Regions from separate parts of the Homo sapiens genome. Here all the other regions are linked to region 1. The links are contacts of gene promoters, found by promoter capture Hi-C in human tissues and cell types (Jung and others, 2019). All regions are on one chromosome and are shown on one strand. The core of a region is centred on a gene start or on the middle of the fragment in contact, and the rest is flanking DNA. Distances in the headings are between cores, read along the strand shown.

Region 1 (2,547 bases), core at 28-2,527:
CCTGTAGTCTTTTCTTTCCTAACCTCCACTTCCAGTCCCTTAGCAACCTTAAAGCTATCCCAAATGTGACTTCTCAGTATCCACTGGTTCCACCCTACTCCAAGTCACCATCATCTCTTACCTGACAATGGCCTCCTAAGCGACCTGCCTGCTTCATCTCTTATGCCTGGAAAGGCCACTCTCTACAGAGAAATCACAGCCCTTCCCTTCCTAAACATCCTCCCAGATAAGATGGCTTCCCACTACATTTAGAATGAAATCCAAGCGCCTACAAGACCCTGCACAATCCATCTCTTACACTACTCTTGATGTTCAGCCACAAAGGCCTCCTTTCTGCTGCTCAAACTATTTGCAGCCTGCCGCAGGGCATTTATGTGCACTGGTATTTCTCTCCAGTGGAATAATCTCCCCCTAGTCACCTCAGAGCCAGCTCCTTCTCAATCACTGAGGTCTCAGCTCAATGCACCTCCTCAGAGAGGCCTTCCTTAACACCCTATCTCACCTCCTCTGCAGTCCTCGCGCGACACTATCACAACCGTCTTAGTTCTTTCATAACACTTACCAGCAGCTGAAATTATCCTTTCTCTAGCTCTTGCACTAGAAAGTAAGGCTATGAGCAGATGCCAATACTGCAAACTCCCCAGAGCCTAGAAGAGTTCCTGACACATAGCAGGTCCTCAAGAAATATTCTTGAAGAGATGCATAACAACGGTAACCCTTACTGAGCTCCCATAGTGTGCCGACTGGTTTATTTAGTCCCCACAGCAACCCCATAAGGAGGGTGTTATTTTTTCGTCATTTCACAGAGAAGGAAAATGAAGCACGGAGAGGTTAAGCCATTTGCCCGAGGTCTCACAGCTACAGCGAGCAGGGCCAGGATGAGAACCAGGCTTGAGACCACAGCACCCGAGGGCGGGGTGGGTCGCGGCCCCTCTGCCGGCTCGCTGGCCGGGCAGCTCCGCATTCCGCCAGTCTGGGCAGCTGGAGACAAGGCAAGAGCCCCAGCTGGAGGGATGAGCGCCCCAGGGCTCAGATCTGTCCGATCACCTCCTGTGGGTCCGATGCAGCGGGTGCCTGCCCCTCTCCCAGCCTCACTCCCCCACGCCAGGGAACCGATACCTGCACCGGCGTCATGTACGGGAAGCCCAGCTCCCGCAGCGCGCCCAGCACCTGCGGGTGCAGCGGCACAGGCAGCGACTCCCAGGAGCCCTCTGTCACATGCTCCATGGCGCGCTCCTTCGCCGCGTCGGTCGCCGCTGCTCGAACGCGCCTTGTGCACCCCCAACGAGCACTTCCGCTTCCCGCAGCTCCAGCGGCCGGCCGGGAACTTCGCTGGAGCAGCAGAGTTCCGGAGCGCGGCGAAGGCTCCCACGCCGCGGGAGGGAGGAAAGGCGTCCGCGGGACGGTGGAGGCAGGCGGCGGGGCAGGCCTGGGGAGTTACACCCGCTCCGCACAGCGCCCTGGGCTCCGGGCGCCTCTCCGCACCGGGCAGGAGTTTTGGCGGGAGGGATTCTGGCCCGGCCCTCCCACTTTCTCTGCCCCTCGGAGGCAGGTGGCAGCACAGGACCGCGTCCAGGCCGAAGGACAGCGGGGCTGGCTACCGTGGGCAGAGAAACGTGTCGGGGACCCGGGTTAGCAGCCCTGCAAAACAGGCACCCGCTGATGGCCGGTACGTCCTGAATGTTGCGGTCCGATGGCCGGTACGTCCTGAATGTTGGTTTACTTTCCCGGAAGTTAGGGTCAGAGTCCTAACTAAGAACACTGTCCCATTCCTCTGTTCACTGTTTGCCTGGGCCATTCATGTCCACATACAACTTCACTCAGAAAGCTGTTTTTGTTGTTGTTGTTGTTGTTGTTGTTGTTTGAGACGGAGTCTCGCTCTGTTGCCCAGGCTGGAGGCTGGGCGCTATAACGGTTCACTGCAAGCTCCGCCTCCCGGGTTCACGCCCTTCTCCTGCCTCAGCCTCCCGAGTACCTGGGACTGCAGGCGCCCTCCACCACGCCCGGCTAATTTTTTGTATTTTTAGTAGAGACGGGGTTTCACCGTGTTAGCCAGGATGGTCTCGATTTCCTGACCTCGTGATCCGCCCGCCTCGGCCTCCCAAAGTGCTGGGATTACAGGCGTGAGCCACCGCGCCCGGCCTTCACTCAGCAAACTTTTATTGACCACTCATTATGTGCCCTCTATGAGGGCCTATCTCCTCCACCTATGTGCATGGCTTGCTCCTGTTGAGGCTCTGAAAACGAAACCCCAAAATGAAGGCCCCAGAGGCAGCCTCAGAAGCAAGTTTCTCTCTGACCTTCTGCTCCCTCTCTGATCTCTGATTCTCTGAGGCTAGCCATAGAAACTCAAGAATCCCTCTTGCCCATGACGGAGCATAGAAACAGGAATCCCTTTTCTCCACAGTCAGCCATAAAACCTAAAAATATTACTCTCTCTCCACCTTTCTGTGAAAAAACTGGCCATAAAGAAATTATTGGCCTGGCACGGTGGCTCACGCCTGTAATCTCACCACTTTGGGAGGCCAAAGCGGGCAGATCTCAAGG
Region 2 (2,547 bases), core at 17-2,516, 830 kb after region 1:
AGTTCGAGACCAGCCTGGCCAACATGGCGAAACCCTGTCTCTACTAAAAACACAAAAATTAGCTCGGCATGGTGGTGGGAGCCTGTAGTCCCAGCTATTTGGGAGGCTGAGGCGGGAGGATTGCTTGAACTCGGGAAGCAGAGGCTGCAGTAAGCCGACATTGCGTCACTGTACTCCAGCCCTGGGGACAGAGCCAGACCCTGTCTCAAAAATAAATAAATAAGAATGATGAATAAATTACAGTTGCTAGTCTTAACAAGGAAAATGGAATTTGGAGTCAAGGGATTTCAAGTCCCAAGGCTTGAATTCCAGTGTTGGGTTAGCCCTTCATTCATGCACTCAACAAATAATTTATTGAGCGCCAGTGGCTGGGCCACAGACCTCCAGGCAAGGAGCACATATTCCACTCCAGGAAAACAGGCAGTAAGCCGAGTACACAAAGGCAGGTCGTCTTACACTGATGGACGCGAACCTTGGGCAAGCCCACTTCCAGACTTTTTGGTACAGTGGAGTTGTGAGAGCTCCTTCCTCTACTCGCCAGGTTGTGTAAATTAAGGACACCCTGAGAGGTAAATGGGAAAGCAGCTCCCCAGACGCCAATCGTCCTCCTTAAACAGTAAGCACCGGGTACGCGCTACTCTGTGGCCCGGGCTGAATAACAAGGTGTTATTGGGTTAAGGAAACGGTCGTGACGCCGTTTTCCTCTAGTGTATTGTTTCACTTTTTTTTTTTTTTTTTTTTTTTGAGACGGAGTCTCGCTCTGTCGCCCAGGCTGGAGTGCAGTGGCGCGATCTCGGCTCACTGCAAGCTCTGCCTCCCGGGTTCACGCCATTCTCCTGCCTCAGCCTCCCGAGTAGCTGGGATTACAGGCGCCCGCCGCCACGCCCGGCTAATTTTTTTTTTTTTATTTTTAGTAGAGACGGGGTTTCACTGTGTTAGCCAGGATGGTCTCGATCTCCTGACCTCGTGATCCGCCCGCCTCCGCCTCCCAAAGCGCTGGGATTACAGGCGTGAGCCACCGCGCCCGGCCTGTTTCACATTTTAAGTAGACACCGTTCTTGAGAAGCAATAGATTTCGACCAATGTGCACCGTTCCCGCGGCGCCCCGCCGCGCCCGGAACCGCTGCTTACCTGGCGCCCGGCAAGGAAGGCTGCCGGAGGGTTCATAGGTGTTTCCTCCGCCCCCGGAGAAGCCCGGTGTGGGCGGCGTCACCTCAGAAACGCCATCGGCGCGCCTGCCCCGAGCGGCGGGGGCGAGCCCGGAGCCCCGGGGCCCCGCGCCCTCGGCCGACCCCCGCCCCGTACTCCAACCGCCTGCCTGGTGCCCACGCGGCGTGCGCCCGCCGGGGCTCGGGGCTCCCCGCCAGGGTTTCCGGGCCGCAGCCCCGCTGCGCTGGTGGGCACTGTTCTTCTGCCTCGGAAACTGGGGGCTCCCAAGTGGCTCAGGCTGCGTATGGACGCTTTTTGCCCACGCCCGAGGCTCCGGCGCTGGAAGGCCTGAAAGAACCGGCTGTTCACCACTACCCAGAGAATGAAGAAGTCAATAAAGGCTGCTGCGCCGCCCCCAGCACTCTGGTTTATGACATTTGAGTTGCTCACTTCCCTATCTTCCATCTTCCCCCTAATAACCGTGAGCTCGGCCGTGCTCGCTCCTGTGTAGCTGGCTCCCAGAACAGGACCTGACACTCGAATGCGTGGAGGCAGAGCCCAGCCCTCGGGGATAACAGTTGCGGGCTACCCTAGCACCTTTGATACTTTAAACCAAGAATCACAGATGAAGAGGGGGAAATTTACTCTTGGGAGCTCCTGAAAAGCAATGAGGAGAACCACGGTACTTTGTCATGACAAAATCTACGATATTCTGGGTTGAATCTAAGCTTTTTCACCTGTTCTTCCATAGTCACCTCTTCATCCCCCTTTCACTCTTCCTAAGATGTGGGAACGGGACTAGGAAAAAATAAGGCTTATCACACTTCAGCCCCGGCTGCCCATCCCTGAATGCTTAACCCATCAGACAGCAACACAATTACTAAATACGGTCGGTCTTACAGGGTTTCAACTTTACTTTTTGGTTGAATATGAAATGCCAAAACATGCCCTTGTGTTCAAAAAATACAATCTGAAAATGGAAAAACAAAATTAAGATTTCTTATTTTGAAGCTTTACTGATAGGCTCATGTTTGGGAGACCAAAGCAATGTCTTAGAATTTAAAATCAAGAAAGCTGGGCGCAGTGGCCTGTAACCCCAGCACTTTGGGAGGCCAATGTAGGAGGATCTGTTGCGTTCAGGAGTTTGAGACCAGCCTGAGCAACATGGTGACACCCACCTCTAAAAAACTTTTTTTTTTTTTTTTTTTGAGATGGAGTCTGGCTCTTGTTGCCTGAGCTGGAGTGCAATGGCACAATCTCGGCTCACTGCAAACTCTGCCTCTGGCCTCAAGCAAATCTCCTGCCTCAGCCTCCCGAGTAGCTGGGATTACAGGTGCCCGCCACCACGCCACCTTTGTTGTATTTTTAGTAGAGATGGGTTTCACTACCTTGGCCAGG
Region 3 (2,547 bases), core at 14-2,513, 610 kb after region 1:
GTGCATGGAGACTTAGGGACAGTACCGTTGTGGTCCCATTATGTGTCATTGTGAAAAACCAGAACCAACTTAAATGTCCGTCTATGTGGAGGGGCTGGTTAAATAAATTCTGGCACAACCACACAGTGGAGTACCCGCCTCCACTGAAAAAGAGCAAGGAGAAACTAGACGTGCTGACATGAAAGACGCCAACATTTTTTGTGTTAAATGGGAGGAAAAGGCAAAGTTCAGAAGGCATAGCATATGTTCTGGTTTATGTCCCTCTAAAAGTGAGATACAGCACTAATAATTAACACAACCTTGCATTCACGTGATCTCCTTAACTCCATGACGTGGTTGGAACTGCTGCCCCATTTGACAGAAGGGGAAACATTTTCCGATACAGGCAGGGCAGGGCTGCCCTAGCCAGCACTCGGTGGTGCTCCCGCAAGATGAGCTGGAGCTTCGGGGGGATCTGGGGTGGAAGGGGTTTCCACCATGTGCCCTTCATCATATGCTCTTCTGTACTGCAAACCACCTTTTACCACAATCATTATAACTTTTGCAATGAAAAAAAATTAGAGGTCAGGCGTGGTGGCTCACGCCTGTAATCCCAGCACTTTGGGAGGCCCAGGTGGGAGGATCACTTGAGTCCAGGAGTTTGAGACCAGCCTGGATAACATAGTAAGACCCCATCTCTACAAAAAATAAAATAAAAAAGCCAGGTGTGGTGGTGCACACCTGTGGTCCCAGCTACTCAGGAGGCTGAGGGGGTAGGATCACTTGAGCCCAGGAGACGGAGGCTACAGTGAACCAAGATCGCACCACTGCCCTCCAGCCTGGGTGACAGAGCAAGACCCTGTCTCAAACAAACAAAAAAGTGACAATGACCCAAACAGGTCCCAAATTGATAGAGACACACCCCCCATCTTATCCCTAACTTTCAGCAGACAACCCAGTGCCCAGTTCCCAAATTTCCCACCCCCACCACTGCTCCTCAGGGCCAGCCCCAGCTCTGCAGCCAACACCCCCACCCCCAGTTTTCCAGCTGCGGCCGGCCTGCCAGCAAGTCTACAACCTCTTCCACCCCGCGGACCCGTCAGCTTCACGCCTGGAGCCGCTGCTGGAACGGCGCTTTCACGCCCTGCCGCCTTTCAGCGTCCCCCGCTACCAACGCTACCCGCTGGGGGATGGCTGCTCCACGCTGCTGGGTGAGAGGCACATTCCGCCCCACTCCTCTGGGGGAAGGTGGGGTAAGCGTGGCTCCCTGGCTCCTAGGTCCTCCATGCTACGTGGTTCTTCCCCAGGTGAGAGGGACAGCTTGTGCTGAATGCCTCTTGGAGGTGGACAGCTGTTGGGGGTGGGGGGTGGGGGTGGTGCATCCCTCCGCACTGATCCCTGTGAGGCACAAATGATAGTTCCCACCTTTCAGAGGACACAGGTCAGGGCCTTGTTCCAGGGTCCCCGGAGCAGGGAAAGGGCAGAACAAGACCAGACTCCCCTCTCCACAGCTGAGCCTCCATCCCAACAGAGACAGAGCTAAGGACCCAGCAGGGACCCTCACTTAGTAGGGGGCCTGGGTCGGCTGGGTCCCATCATGGCAGGCGGCTGGCCCCGAGATAGGGTGCAGGAGATGCGTTGGGGCAGGGGAGGTCCAGGTAGGCTTGGCCCGACCCCTGCCCCAGCGTGTGTCCCAGCGTCTTGTCACGTCCTGGTCCTCGAGGAGCCCTGAGTCTCTGTGTCAGAGCGTGTCTGGATGGCCCATGCAAGTGTCTGTTCTTGTCCTCTGTTCTCTCCCCGTCTGCCTCCAGTCGAGACCGTGCAGAGAAACCCTGAGCTGGTCCTGGAGGGCGGCCCCCTGGCCCCTCTCCCCCACGGGGACGGCTTCCTGGAAACCAGTATGCCTGTTCCCGCGCCCACCTGGCAAGACGGGCCCCGCCCGGGCTGTGCCGAGTGTGTGTACCCTCCCCTGCTCGTGGTGACGTCTGCTTCGTTGGTTGACCTGGTCCTCAGGGACACCCCCCAATCCATGCCCTCCTTGGCCACTCACAGTTCGTGGGACCTGGGTGGTGAGGAACAGAGACTTGGGCAGGACGGCTCTGGGGAGCTGATGTCGGTGCTTCCTCCCTGCATATTGTGGGCCAGAGGCAGGGCAGAGCCAAAGCAAAGGGGCGCAGCAGCTCAGAGACAGCAGAGGCCGTCTCAGGGCCACACAGCAAGTCAGCGACAGTTCCAGGGCTCTGCCAGAAGCAGACTGAGGCCTTGAGCCAGCCGGGCCCACCCCTCACCTGGGGAAGCTTCTGGTCCCAGCGAGGGGTTGGATTCCCCAAGGCCCACTCCTTCGCTTTCTGAGGTCACCCAGGCACCTCCTGTACCCCGTCCAGGTGTGGCTTGTCTGGCTGAGCCCCATCCTCCCTGTTCTGTCCTGTCTTCAGCCTGCGCCTGGGTGAGCCTGGCTTGAGCCCCCAGCACCTGCCTTTGTCCCCAAACGCCCATCAGGGGCTGCTGGCTGTGGCCTGTGTGAGGGATGCTCAGGGCTTGCCTCTCTCTGTGCTCTGCATGTGCAGG
Region 4 (2,547 bases), core at 19-2,518, 560 kb after region 1:
CCTGTTTGTTACAATGAATGAGCCTGCAGTGACATGGCATCGCCCTAAGTCCGTAGATTACACAAGGGCTCACTCTTGATGTTGTACTTTCTGTGGGTTTGGACAAATGTATGAGGACATGCATCCGCCATTGTAGTATCCCACAGAGTACTTTTACTGCCCTAAAAATCCTCCATTCTCTGCCTGTTCATCTCTCACTAATTTTTCTACCTACTTAATGAACCAACTTCTATGCTATGGAAGTTGAGGAAACGATATTTCTACCTTTGTTCTTCTCCAAATTTGTCTTAGTTGTATTATCATTTGTGTACAGTGTTGAGGTTTTGATAGTCAGTTCAATCACATAATTGCCATGATTTCAAAATATCAATGCCGTGTTCATCAGGATTTCTCCATTTATTACCTCATTTTGACTTATCTTTTTGGTTAGTTGGATTTCAACATCAGATAATTTTTTCTTTTTTTTTGAATTTTATGTATTTATTTATTTTTGAGACAGGGCCTTGCTCTGTGATTCAGGCTGGAGTGCAGTAGCGCAAACATGGCTCACTGCAGCCTTGACCTCCTGTGCTCAAGCCATCCTCTCACCTCATCTCCCCAGGATGCAGCCCGGCCGTGCCAGGGGTGCATGGTGGGAGGCCACTCGATGGAGCCCCATGTTCCTGCCCTGGGGCCTTTGCTCACGCTGTTCCTTCTTACTGGATTGAGTCCTTCTCACACCTACCCTCAGCTCTGCCCTTAGCCTCCCCAAGTGTCTGGATTACAGGTGTCTGCCGCCTTGCCCAGCTAATTTTTTTTAAGTGTATGATTTTTTGAAGAGACAGTATCTCACTGTATTGCCCAGGCTGGTCTTGAACTCCTGGGCTCAGGTAATCCTCCTGCCTTGGTTTCCCAAAGTGCTAGGATTATAGGTGTGAGCCACCGTGCCCGGCCAGGTAATTATTTTTTAGATGACTTTAAGGATGTCTAAGCCCCTAAACTCATGCTTCAGAGAGCCCCACCTCATCTCCCCAAGATGCAGCCTGGCCATGCCAGGGGCACATGGTGGGAAGCCACTCAATGGAGCCCCACGTTCCTGCCCTGGGGCCTTTGCTCACGCTGTTCCTTCTTACTGGATTGAGTACTTCTCACACCCGCCCTCAGCTCTGCCGAGCAGAATCCCATGGATCTCAGAGAGCCTGGCTCCGCCTTCCATGAAGCCTTTCCTGAGACCCCTCTGGACTGAGCAACTTATCTTGTTTTCATGACACTCATGGTAACTCCAGAAGTCAGATAGTATTATCCCCATTTTATATATGGAGAGACCGAGGCTCAGCAGATACAGGGGCTTTTCCAGGAGGTCACACAGCTGGTAAAGGCATTGTGAGGCTTTGCAGTCAGATCCCAGAGTGAGCTCCAAACTGTCACCTCCCGTCACATTCTGTGTCACTCTTAGAGTTCTGAGTCCTCTCTCCTATTAGTCACCCGTGCATTTAACTGTAAGATATAGAACGATTTATTTGTTTTTTCCTTCTTCCTATCCATGTATGTACCTACTTACTTACCTCTACAGCTCTTTAGTTCCTTGTGGGCAGAAACACGGTTGCTTTTCCCTAAGCCAGCCTTGATGGAATTGCATCCTGAGCACTTGCACTTTCTGATGCTCTTCCACCATGTGGCTGCTGCCCTTGCACGGTCCTAAGCTTTGCCCCACTCCACCCAGGTGCCAGGAGCCTCCAAGGGGCCTCTGGGCCCTCCAGGTGTGTGTTCCCTCTCTGTCTCTGTCCCTCTGCCTGCACGCAAAAATATCCCAGCGGAGCTGTGGACAGCACCTGTGCAATTAACAGCTCACCTGACAGCTTGTCCGTGGGGGAACATCATTAGGTATCTGTTCCAGACATGTGCTCACAGAGCCTTTGAAATCAGAGACCCAAGCCAGTGTCTGGGTGCTGGCTCAGGCTGCGAGATTTCACCCCTGGTTGTTATTTGAGGTGATGGAGACATTTAAGGAACATTATGAATCTGGCTCAGGGGGTCCTACCTTGCTAGTGCCTGGTGAGCCTGGAATCTGAGAGGATTGAGAAAGGACTGATTTGCATGGGGATGAGCAGGGCAGGTCATGTACGCTGGAGGGGTTAAGACTCCCAAAGGGCAGAATGCTTAGACTCGTAAGGTTTCTGAAGAACATTTAGAGTCTGTGTCTGACCATGTTATTTAGATGACTAAATGAGACTTGCCCACTCTGGGTCACTGCATTTGCCCCACAGTAAAGGAGCCCACCTGAGGCCCCACAGAGGCGGAGTGGGTGCTGCACGTCACACAGGTGTACTGCTTCACACCAAGCACCTGCTGTGCCTTCCTAGTTGGGCGATGCTGGGGCTTCAATGAAGAACCACGTGAAGAAGCTTCAGAAACAACCCCCATTGAACTTCAATTTTCCCTTCCCGTCTCCAACCCTAATTTCCTCCAACTTCCCTCAAACATAAAGCTCTCTCTCCTTTATGTATGTAAGTTTCTCAGATCAGGTGCCTGTGCTACCCTCCCAGCCAGCTGGAAGTCCATCCAGGT
Region 5 (2,547 bases), core at 31-2,530, 540 kb after region 1:
AAAATCCAGCACACTGAAAACCAGACACTTTTTTGTAACTCATTTGGCAGCAAAATTTTTCCTGAACTGAGGTGAGGCTATTTATAGTCCAAGTGAGGCTATTTATAGTCTTTATGTATTCTATATTCATGTCTTTCACTGCAGAGAGTTCAATGTATTTGTTTATTGGATGCTGCTGAGATATGCAGCTTTACCTGTCTAAAGTTCAGGATATTCTGAAATCCTAGATACATCTAGCCCCAAGAGCAAGAGTGCTGTACTTTTTTTTGCTGGTAAATAGCCTCTGCCCCTGCCCCGTCCCCCTTATTGTCCCTTCCCTGGGATTTCTGGAGCTAAGTGGGCAATGCTGTCCACAGGCACCTCCAGGATTCCCCCAGCCCCACAGCCAGCAGCAGTGCCCAGGGGTTAGATATTTTTAGTATTCCTGTGGGTGACAGAACACATCTTGGTTGCCAGGCATAGTGTTCTACCCCCTCACTGGACGTATTACCACCTCCCTTTACAGATGAGTAAACCAAGGCTCAGTTGCAAGTATCAGATCTAAGGACGGAGAGATGAGAAGTGCAGGCGCTGGACCCCAAACTTTCCCTTCCACCTGGCTGCCTGTCTGGGAGGGAGTCTGGGGACTCAGGAACCTGTCTCCCTGGATTTGTTGAAATGGGAAGCAGCAAGCATCAGGGTCCCAGGTGCACCGGAGGGGAGCAGACAGATGCAAGCCAGGCTGCTCTACTTGGCAGGGAGAAGGAGGAGGAGGAGCAGGGGCCCCTCAGTTGCTGCAGGGCCTCCCTAGGAACTTACCGCCTACCTCTACACCGTAGTTCCTGCTTCTCAGAGTCCCTTTGTTAGAACACCTGTGCCTTCCTCCGCACCCAACTCCATCTCTTCCCAGCAGCCAGCCCTCATAGCTGCTCCGGCTCTTGGGTCTTTCCTCCAGAACTCTCTGAAGCCACTGGCACATAGGGAGATGGCATAACTTTGTCCAAACTCTGTCGGCAGCTGTTCTTGGGGACCCTGCTAGCAGCCACCTTCTCCTACAACCTTCAGAAGCTCCCTTGGATGCAGGAGCTTTGTCAGGGCCTGAAAGCCCCAGGCTTCCCCCTTTTTCTGACTCCCCAGTGTACAAGTTCTTTCCCATTTCCTGTGAGACGCATCATCTTGTGATGACCAATGACTCCCACCATCCACCACATTGACCCTGGCTCAGAAGCCTTTGGTCTGAGAAGCTTCTTGCCCACTGGGACGCCTCCTATCCACCCTGCCCAAGCCATGCCTGACGTGCCATAGTGCAGTGAGAGGGCCTACTCTTGGACAGTGGAGAGATCTGGGACAGGGTTATGGCTGTAGTGGTTAACCATCCTTGGATTGTAGGCACGTCAGCAGACCTCTCCAGAGCTTGTTTCCTGTTTCCTCATCTGCAGAGTGGGCTTAGGGTTGGCTGCCCTCACAGAGCTGTTGATGAGGATTGGCCTTAGGGCAGGCATCCTGCATAGACCGTGCCTTGTCATGAGCCCTGTTACCCTTCCCCCATTCCACTAGCAGGGTCTTTCTTCCTGTATACCCATTAAGGGGTCAGAAAGTTTCCCAGAGCTGCCGTGAGTGTAAAGAAGTCAACTGTGACCCGTTGTGAAGACCTTTGGGTTTAGAGGCAGAGGCTCTGGGCTCTAGTCCCACCCCTGCCCTATGTAGATGATGGATGGATGCATGGGTGGATGGATGCATGGGTGGATGAATGCATGGGTGGATGGATCAGTGGATGCATGCATGAGTGAATGGCGCGGTAGCTACATGGGTAGATGGATAGGTGGATGCATGGGTGAAGGGATGCATGGGTAGATGCGAGTAGGGATGCATAGGTGGAAGGATGAGTAGATCAACTGTCTGCCCTTTTCTGGGCCTTAATTTTTCCATCTACCCAATGATAGGGTTGGATTGCAAGTTCTTCAGTTTCTGAGGTTTGTGACCCCACCTATGTCAACCTGGCACCCTTAAGGACTGCTGCCCCCTTAGGTGGTGACCTATAAGGAGGACCGTGCCTATACCCAGGGACCCTGGAACCCTCTCTGAGCTCCACCTTCCACCCTGCCTTGGGCCTTCCCAGCTCTGACTTGGTACCCTCCTTGCAGCCTCTGCGCTCCTCATCCCTTTCCAATAGGAGTGCAGTTTTCTTCTGGCTCTTTTGTTGACAGAATCGCTTGTTTATTTGTGGTGGGAGAGTCTGTATATCCTGTGTGCAGTCACTTCCCTCCAGGCCACTCTGCATTCATGCAGGATGAGCTGCTGAGTGAGCATTGGGTGGAAGTGTCAGGCGCTGGGGGCTTGGCAGAGGGACTGTCACAGGGTCAGGGTGGCTTTACTGCCAAGGTGGCTCTTGAGTTAGGTCAGGAGCTAGGTCAACTTAGTAGGTCAGAATTTCCCGGTGGAGGTGGAGACCCAGGTGATGGCACCCAGACGGGCTGGGTCCTCACGGGTGAGGGTGTCAGTTCACCAGCCTGTGCAAAGACTTCCAGTGCCAAGGCAAGGAGCTCAGGGTGCTTTGGTGAATGAAGG

Evidence for each region. Contacts are between HindIII fragments. The study calls those that stand out against the background at their distance.
Region 2: a contact is called between the fragment with the promoter of CCDC62 here and the fragment with the promoter of DDX55 in region 1, in 1 of the 25 tissues and cell types used here (hippocampus).
Region 3: a contact is called between a fragment that was not itself captured here and the fragment with the promoter of DDX55 in region 1, in 1 of the 25 tissues and cell types used here (lymphoblastoid cells).
Region 4: a fragment that was not itself captured here is called in contact with the fragment with the promoter of DDX55 in region 1 in 2 of the 25 tissues and cell types used here (bladder and dorsolateral prefrontal cortex).
Region 5: a fragment that was not itself captured here is called in contact with the fragment with the promoter of DDX55 in region 1 in 2 of the 25 tissues and cell types used here (dorsolateral prefrontal cortex and lymphoblastoid cells).

The regions. Positions count from the first base shown.
Region 1 is chr12:123,600,829-123,603,375 of GRCh38, reverse strand. It overlaps DDX55 (DEAD-box helicase 55), which reads right to left and starts at 1,277. Exons shown (of 14, transcript NM_020936.3): 1 at 1,120-1,277. The coding sequence starts at 1,227. RefSeq lists an enhancer at 516-565 and a silencer at 806-915. The HindIII fragment of the contact is 15,410 bases long and covers 1-2,547 here.
Region 2 is chr12:122,773,291-122,775,837 of GRCh38, reverse strand. CCDC62 (coiled-coil domain containing 62) reads right to left here and starts at 1,266. Exons shown (of 13, transcript NM_201435.5): 1 at 1,132-1,266. The coding sequence starts at 1,167. RefSeq lists silencers at 402-696, 1,219-1,428 and enhancers at 899-1,038, 426-1,119. The HindIII fragment of the contact is 10,219 bases long and covers 1-2,547 here.
Region 3 is chr12:122,991,142-122,993,688 of GRCh38, reverse strand. PITPNM2 (phosphatidylinositol transfer protein membrane associated 2) reads left to right here. Exons shown (of 26, transcript NM_020845.3): 16 at 1,020-1,190. Among named protein-coding and RNA genes, the nearest start is that of ARL6IP4, 12 kb to the right of the region's middle. The HindIII fragment of the contact is 5,083 bases long and covers 1-2,547 here.
Region 4 is chr12:123,037,204-123,039,750 of GRCh38, reverse strand. All of the region lies in intron 2 of PITPNM2 (phosphatidylinositol transfer protein membrane associated 2), which reads left to right. Among named protein-coding and RNA genes, the nearest start is that of MIR4304, 28 kb to the right of the region's middle. The HindIII fragment of the contact is 3,834 bases long and covers 1-2,547 here.
Region 5 is chr12:123,060,246-123,062,792 of GRCh38, reverse strand. The region is part of intron 2 of PITPNM2 (phosphatidylinositol transfer protein membrane associated 2); the gene reads left to right. Among named protein-coding and RNA genes, the nearest start is that of PITPNM2-AS1, 20 kb to the left of the region's middle. The HindIII fragment of the contact is 7,256 bases long and covers 1-2,547 here.